2 separate regions of the Homo sapiens genome follow, and region 2 is linked to region 1. The links are contacts of gene promoters, found by promoter capture Hi-C in human tissues and cell types (Jung and others, 2019). All regions are on one chromosome and are shown on one strand. The core of a region is centred on a gene start or on the middle of the fragment in contact, and the rest is flanking DNA. Distances in the headings are between cores, read along the strand shown. Region 1 holds the start of CYP2R1 (cytochrome P450 family 2 subfamily R member 1). Region 2 has its middle 27 kb from the start of CALCB.

Region 1 (3,474 bases), core at 109-2,608:
TGAAAAAGACAAGGAAATAGAATCTCTCCTACAGTCTCTAGAAAGAATGAAGCCCCACTAACACCTCTCTGTCAGCCCTGGAAGACTCATTTTGGACTTCTCACCTCAAGAATTGTAAGAAAATAAATTTGTGTGGTTTTAAGCCATCAGATTGGTGGTAATTTATTACAACAGTAGTAGGAAACAAATACACTTCTTTAGCAGTTGATCTCAGCTCCAATGTCATCTTCCTAATAAGACTTTCCTTGACAGCCCTTGCCTGCTAAAGTATCTCCCCAACCACCAGGCGTTTTCTATAACGCACTTTTTGTTTGCTTCTGATTATTGAAAATTATTGTATTTCCATGTCATTGCTCTTCCCTCTCATAAGAATGTAAGTTATAGAAAGGACTTTGTTGCTCTTATTCACCTATGTATCTCCATTGCTTAGGACATGGGAACATAGTAGACATTCAATAAATATTTGTTGTGTGAATGAGTCGTAAGCTAATGAGGACCATAAAACTCATGCCACTGCTAAATCACAATTAGAGGGCAGCTGTTAGAAGAGTCCCAAACCCAGTAAGTCCTGTATTGCAAGGAACTGCCCAATAGAAAACAGGAATAAAAACAATTAGCAAGAATAATATGAAATCAGTTGCTTAATTCCAGGCAGTGGAGGCAGAAATCTTGAATAGTAAATACTCTCCGTGAACAAGTGCAGACAAGAGTCCCGTGATTGCCAATAAGTAATCAGTTTGGAAAGACCAGAGAGGGGTCAAATATAGGTAAACTGAGTTAATCACATAAACTGCTCAATCATCACAATTATTAAAAGATCACACACAAAAATACATTAACAGGAGAAAAATAGTAAAACAGGACAAAACAGTAAAATTACTTTCTTTTACTACTGATGGGTCAATTTTCTACTGGAAATTCTGAAAAGTATCAGGTTCAGCTAAAGACTGCAGTGTTGATCATCTCTCCAGTTTTCCTAGTGTGAAATGAAATAAGCAGACCTGGTACTTAAAAAGACACTTTAAGAAAGGTCTGGCCCCAGAGAGGCAGGATCCGCCTAGCCCAGTGAGTGAGGCCGTCCTGACACCTCGTCAATGCCCTTGTGTCAACATTCTAGAAAACGGACTCCTGGCTCATTGCTCCGCCTAGAGCCGCGCCACCTCCAAAGGGTAGCACCGGCCACCCGCTCCGCAAAGTCCACTCTCAGCCGCGCAAAACTAGAAGGTAGTTGTCCCGAAGGGGCCTGAGCGCTCACTCAGTCAGCCAATGGCCACGGAGCTAGGGCGGGACCTGAGGGTATCCTGCCAATGGGAGTATGGCAGGGCTGGAGGGAGTGCCTGGGTCTCAGGGCTGCTGTGGAGTTCGCACCTCCAGCTCGGGCCGATGTGGAAGCTTTGGAGAGCTGAAGAGGGCGCGGCGGCGCTCGGCGGCGCGCTCTTCCTGCTGCTCTTCGCGCTAGGGGTCCGCCAGCTGCTGAAGCAGAGGCGGCCGATGGGCTTCCCCCCGGGGCCGCCGGGGCTGCCATTTATCGGCAACATCTATTCCCTGGCAGCCTCATCCGAGCTTCCCCATGTCTACATGAGAAAGCAGAGCCAGGTGTACGGAGAGGTACAGCCCCGACGGGCCCCGGGCAGGGAGGGCCGCCAGGCTGGCCCGGGCTGGCCAGGGCCTTCCTGGTTGGACTTATGGCCGCCCCTGGGCCGACTAGTCGGGACCTCTCCGTGTGCCGGCTGCCCTTTGAGGGACACCCGCTTCCCGGGTCTGGAAGGGAGAAGTCCTCGACGCCGTGCCCCCTTGCAGGGGGAGCCCCGCCCCTGCCGGTGACCCACTCCGGGCCGAGGCTCCGAGGCGATCCAGTCCTGATTTTCCCGCTACCGCTCGAGCTCTTGCTCCTGCGCCTGCGCCGTTTGGCTCGCCAGCCGCGCCGCCACTTCAGGTCCAGGGTGGACGCATGCCCTCAGGTGCGGGCGTCTTGCGAGTCGGCCTCGCAGCTCTGTGGAAGCTGCACGCGGCTTGTCGGAAAATCAAGGCGTTCTGAGTTCTAGATGGTTAATAGCAGGTTCTTCGGTGTCTGCAGTCGACGAACGACTGGTGTAGGCGTTTGCTGTGAGAATGGAGAATGCAGGGGAACGCCCCTGACTGAGAAGCGGGCCCTGGGAAACGATTGTGAACGCGTGAATGAATTGATGACTAAAATCCGCTGCGGGGGTCCTACAGCGCAGATGGTAATGCCGTTCTGACTGGCTGGGAACGGCACCTTAGCAGATACTTAAAAGGCGCCTTCTGTGTGCCACTGTCACTGCCAACTTGGTGACTCATTTAAAACTCATAACCAGCCGGTGAGGTCGGTACTTCGCTCCTCCTCATTCTGCGGAGGGGAAAGCAGCACGGAAATGCCCTGTGACTGGCAGCGGAAAAGGCGACCACCGCTTGTGTGTGGGTGTCCCGACGTCCGGAGGGGGCAGGAGTTTCCACGGGTCCTGGGACAGAGCTCACCTGTTTTGTTTTGAATTACACTTATTTATATGCAACTACAGGCCTGACGCTAGCGGTGAAGAAGGCAGATACAGCCTTTTAAGGAGTTGGCAGATGAGTGGGAGAGAGAAAACTAATCTCATTATCGGCCACAGGCTGTGGTCAGTGTTTTGAAGGAAAAGTACAGGGATGTTTGGCAACTGTGGTATTTCAGGTTTGACCTTAAATCCTTACTTAAACCAATTTTTACAAGGATTGGTCTAGGTGCCCGGGCGCGGTGGCTCACGCCTATAATCCCAGCACTTTAGGAGGCCGAGGCGGGCGGATCACGAAATCAGGAGATCGAGACCGTCGTGGCTAACACGGTGAAACCCCATCTCTACTAAAAGAATACAAAAAATTAGCCGGGCGTGGTGGCGGGCACCTGTAGTCCCAGCTATTCGGGAGGCTGAGGCAGGAGAATGGCGTGAACCCGGGAGGCGGAGCTTTCAGTGAGCCGAGATCGCGCCACTGCACTCCAGCCTGGGCAACAGAGCCAGACTCCGTCTCAAAAAAAAAAAAAAAAAAAAAAAAAAAGAATTGGTCTAGGTTTCTAGAATAGAAAGTCACTAATGGTTTACGTTCCTTTCATGGTTCACGAATAGTTTACGTTGTTAAAGGGAAGCTGGACGAGATAATAAAGGTATGTATAATTCTTAGATCTTATTTTCCAACCTGCAATTCTCCCAGAATTGAGTTTATTCCCATGATTTTCATGTAATATATTTCATCTCTTTGGTATCTTGGTACACAGCATCATAATATTCTAGAGAAATAAAATGTGAAAGCATAAGACTAGAGGTCAGGTCTTCTGCCAGACAAAACTTGACCTCTATTCTGAGTCTTTTTTTTTTCTCGGTAGTGAGAATAACAACAGAAAACAGAAAAGTGCTACTCAAGTGTTCTTGGTTATTGTGTATGTTATTAGTTTCTTTCTTTTTTTATTTGAGACGAGTCTTG
Region 2 (3,527 bases), core at 964-3,463, 150 kb before region 1:
ATTCCACATAGCCTAGAAAGGGTAGTTATTTGTCCTTACCATAATCAAGTCATACTTTGAATATGAGTTTTCCTTCCCTGTTCAGCACCACTTCTCTTAGACTTAAGAATGCCTGATCTGTTGATATTATGTCCCATGTAACATTGCCTGAGACAAAGATATCCATGTACCTTAAAGGAAGTGCAGCAATTAGCTTTCTCTGTACCCAACCCCAGAAGTATCCAGTTTATGAAATGGTGAAATGTCATTAGGGTTAATGGTGATGGGCTTACATTAGGCATCAACTCAGGGATATTCTGTAGCATTGGGGAGCTCTCCTGCCAGATGCAACATATGTATTAAACCAATAACTTACGTGTTGTGCTGTGTCCTCAGTAGCTAGAAAAGACAACTAAGATGTGGAAATAAGATTGTCACCTCTCACCATTACTCCCAGGGACATACAAGTAAAATTTGATGCTTTCCATGCCCACAACCTTAGGTTCTGGTATGGATCTCATGAAATCCTGGTAGACAAGAAGCATATATTTGGACTATATGAAAGACAACTGGTTAAATGACAAAAACTAAAAGACACTGATTGATTGACTTCAAACTGGAAAGGAATTTCTAGTGACATGTCATAAAGCCACATGAGCATTTGGATCAGTGGTTTGGATACATCTATTGAATAGCTCATTTAGCATATACATGTTAGGACTCAGAGGACACCTTGGTTCTCAAAGGAAGGAATATTTATCATTGCATAACTGATAGTCTTAGCACCAGACTGGACTTTTTAGTCCAGCTTGACATTTTAGGCATAGTTTAGTGAGCAACTTGAGGCCTGTGGCTTCAGTCAAAATCCTGATATTTAAAGATACTCGAGGCACCTCTATTTTTGTCTCTTTGGAAGATTTATTCTTGAATTGTATCTTTGTGTGCCTTATACACTTCACTATTCCATTATCAGAAGAATTATTATTTTTTGTGGAGATATTTTATGTGAGCAATACACAGACAGATCATCACTGATATCTCTACTTAAAGAAAGCCTCTGCTTGTTATACCTATATATTCCTAGGATATCTAGAATATGGTCTCCAGTAAGAGATTTAAGAAAAAATTAGACAACTCTAATTAAAAAAAAAAAACAAAGAGATCCAGGGAAGTTGTTTAAAATAAAGGAGAATTTAAAATGTTACCAGTAAACATTCACTGATGAAATATTCATAGAGACAGCTGCTCTAAGGACAAAGGTCTGTTTAAAGTTAAAGCATAGTGTTAATGCATGCAGTTCAATGGAACTTGTACCCTGAAGAATTACAGAGACTATACTGACAGCAAGATTCTGTTTGGAGAATAGGGAAAAATCCAGAAAGACCCAGAAAAAAGAGTGAATCCAGAATATCTGTATTAAAAAATTGGTTAGTGGACAGAAAACTACCAGGATGCCTTAGTCTGCAATGTGAATGAGTAAAAATGCCTTCTACTTAACTTGCCTCAAAGTTTTTATTTTTTATTATTTATTTATTTATTTATTTATTTATTTATTTATTTTGTTTTGTTTTGAGATGGAGTCTCACTCTGTCCCCCCATCTGGAGTGCAGTGACGCAATCTCAGCTCACTGCAACCTCTGCCTCCCAGGCTCAAGCGATTCTCCTGCCTCAGCCTCCCTAGTAGCTGGGATTACAGGTGCCTGCCACCACACCCACCGAATTTTTGTATTTTTAGTAGAGACGGGGTTTCGCCATGTTGGCCAGACTGGTCTCAAACTCCTGACCTCAGGTGATTTGCCCGTCCCGGCCTCCCAAAGTGCTGGGATTACAGGCATGAGCCACTGTGCCCAGCCGCCTCAAAGTTTTTAGCTCATCTTCCTTCAGAACACAGTTTCTAACTTCAGATACTATCAACTGTGCTCAGAGATACAGTTCTGGCTGGGCTGGGTGTTGTAACTGTACCCATATATAACCTTCCACTCAAAGGAAGAATACACAATTGTACTCAATTTTTTTAAATGCTTCTAAAACCCTTCACTGATTCTTAGCATAAAAAGTGTCCCTTTAAAACTAGGCTGTTTTAAGGGGTGGTGGACTCTGAGGAGGTGGCATGTTATATATGAAGAAATTATCAGAGATCCTGAAAATATGATTCTATTTTATGTCTGCAGCATTCTGGCATAGTTGCTGTGTATGCTGCCAAGTATTCTATTCATGGGGTAGAGCTGTTGTGTGGGGATGGCGAGGGGAGTTAGTTTTCTGTGTCAGTGAAGATGACACAACAGCTGGCAGGTGGCAACTGACATGACCACTCTGTATGACCATTCAGATTTGTTCAAGCAAGAAGACATGAGACAAAGATACACTGGCTGGCAATTCAAGCAAGTTCTCACTGAGCTGAATATCTTGCTCTGGTCTGTTTACTGGGCTTTTGTTCGATGCTTTGAAGTCTAGAAACTCATTTTTTTTTCAGTCCACCAGGGTTGACCAGACTTGGAGAACTGACTCTCATAAATTGAACTCACCAAAACCTGAGGTATGTAAGGTTTACAATGTATGCCTTCCTCTTTCCAAGGACCAGAATTTATGCCACTTTTTGGAGCTTACTCTTCCTCCTATCAAGATACCTGAGAAGCCAAATTAGTCATCAGGATCTTTCTTAGTGAACAGGAAAAAATAAGGTACAAGAAAGTTGATAGCCAACAGGGATATTTTATCTCATCACTAACAAAGGCTGGTAAGATCCTACCCACAAAAGAGGATCAGAACCCTCTGATAGATAATCTTTGTTTCCCTGGGATAATACTAAACTGACAGTGATAAATTCTTATCTTCTAGTTTTCCTTCTTATAGACTTCATGTAGGATAATTCTACAAAACTCAACTTCAAACAGCTTTCAAAATTTGTTTATTTATACAAATATTCATTTATTACAAATATTATGTTCTCTTCCCCCTCAAAAAAGGGTAGTATTGTCAAAGTCACAATATTTAGTGATGAGTAGGCAGTAATTGTGTGACATGGTAAATTCTAAAATAATTCTCTGGGTGCAAGGTAGAACTGGTTTTAAAATTGCTGAGGTGTGTTGGGGAAAAGGGAATGATGACTTAATACAATAATCAGTTAGTTTTGCATTGGAGGGATGAACAGTCAGATTGAAGAGGTTATGAGTCTTTTGGATTGTGGCCATATTTCCCCACATCTTTTGACACTCATAAATGCTGTTGTGGACTGAATGTTTGTGTCCCCCCGAGATTCATATGTTGAAGCCCTAACCCTCAATGTGGTAGCATTTGAAGGTAGGGCCGTTGGAGATAGCTGGGTTTAGGTGAGGTCATGAGGGTGGGGCCCCCATGATGCATACCATAAGAAGTCTGTAAGTTCTTAAGTATGAGAAGTATACTTCTTATAAGTATACTTGTAAGAAGAAGAGACACCAGAGCTCTCTCTCTTCTCTTTCACACAAAGAAGAGGTCATGTGAGCACACGATGAGATGGCACCCACTCAGAGAAGAGGCATCAAAATGAAATCTACCTTGCTTGCATC

What was found. Contacts are between HindIII fragments. The study calls those that stand out against the background at their distance.
Region 2: a contact is called between a fragment that was not itself captured here and the fragment with the promoter of CYP2R1 in region 1, in 1 of the 25 tissues and cell types used here (IMR-90 fibroblasts).

What each region holds. Positions count from the first base shown.
Region 1 is chr11:14,890,115-14,893,588 of GRCh38, reverse strand. It overlaps CYP2R1 (cytochrome P450 family 2 subfamily R member 1), which reads left to right and starts at 1,358. Exons shown (of 5, transcript NM_024514.5): 1 at 1,358-1,608. The coding sequence starts at 1,384. It also overlaps a transcript of PDE3B not described here. RefSeq lists a silencer at 1,611-1,850. The HindIII fragment of the contact is 8,315 bases long and covers 1-2,620 here.
Region 2 is chr11:15,044,863-15,048,389 of GRCh38, reverse strand. No RefSeq gene overlaps it. Among named protein-coding and RNA genes, the nearest start is that of CALCB, 27 kb to the left of the region's middle. The HindIII fragment of the contact is 5,872 bases long and covers 1-3,527 here.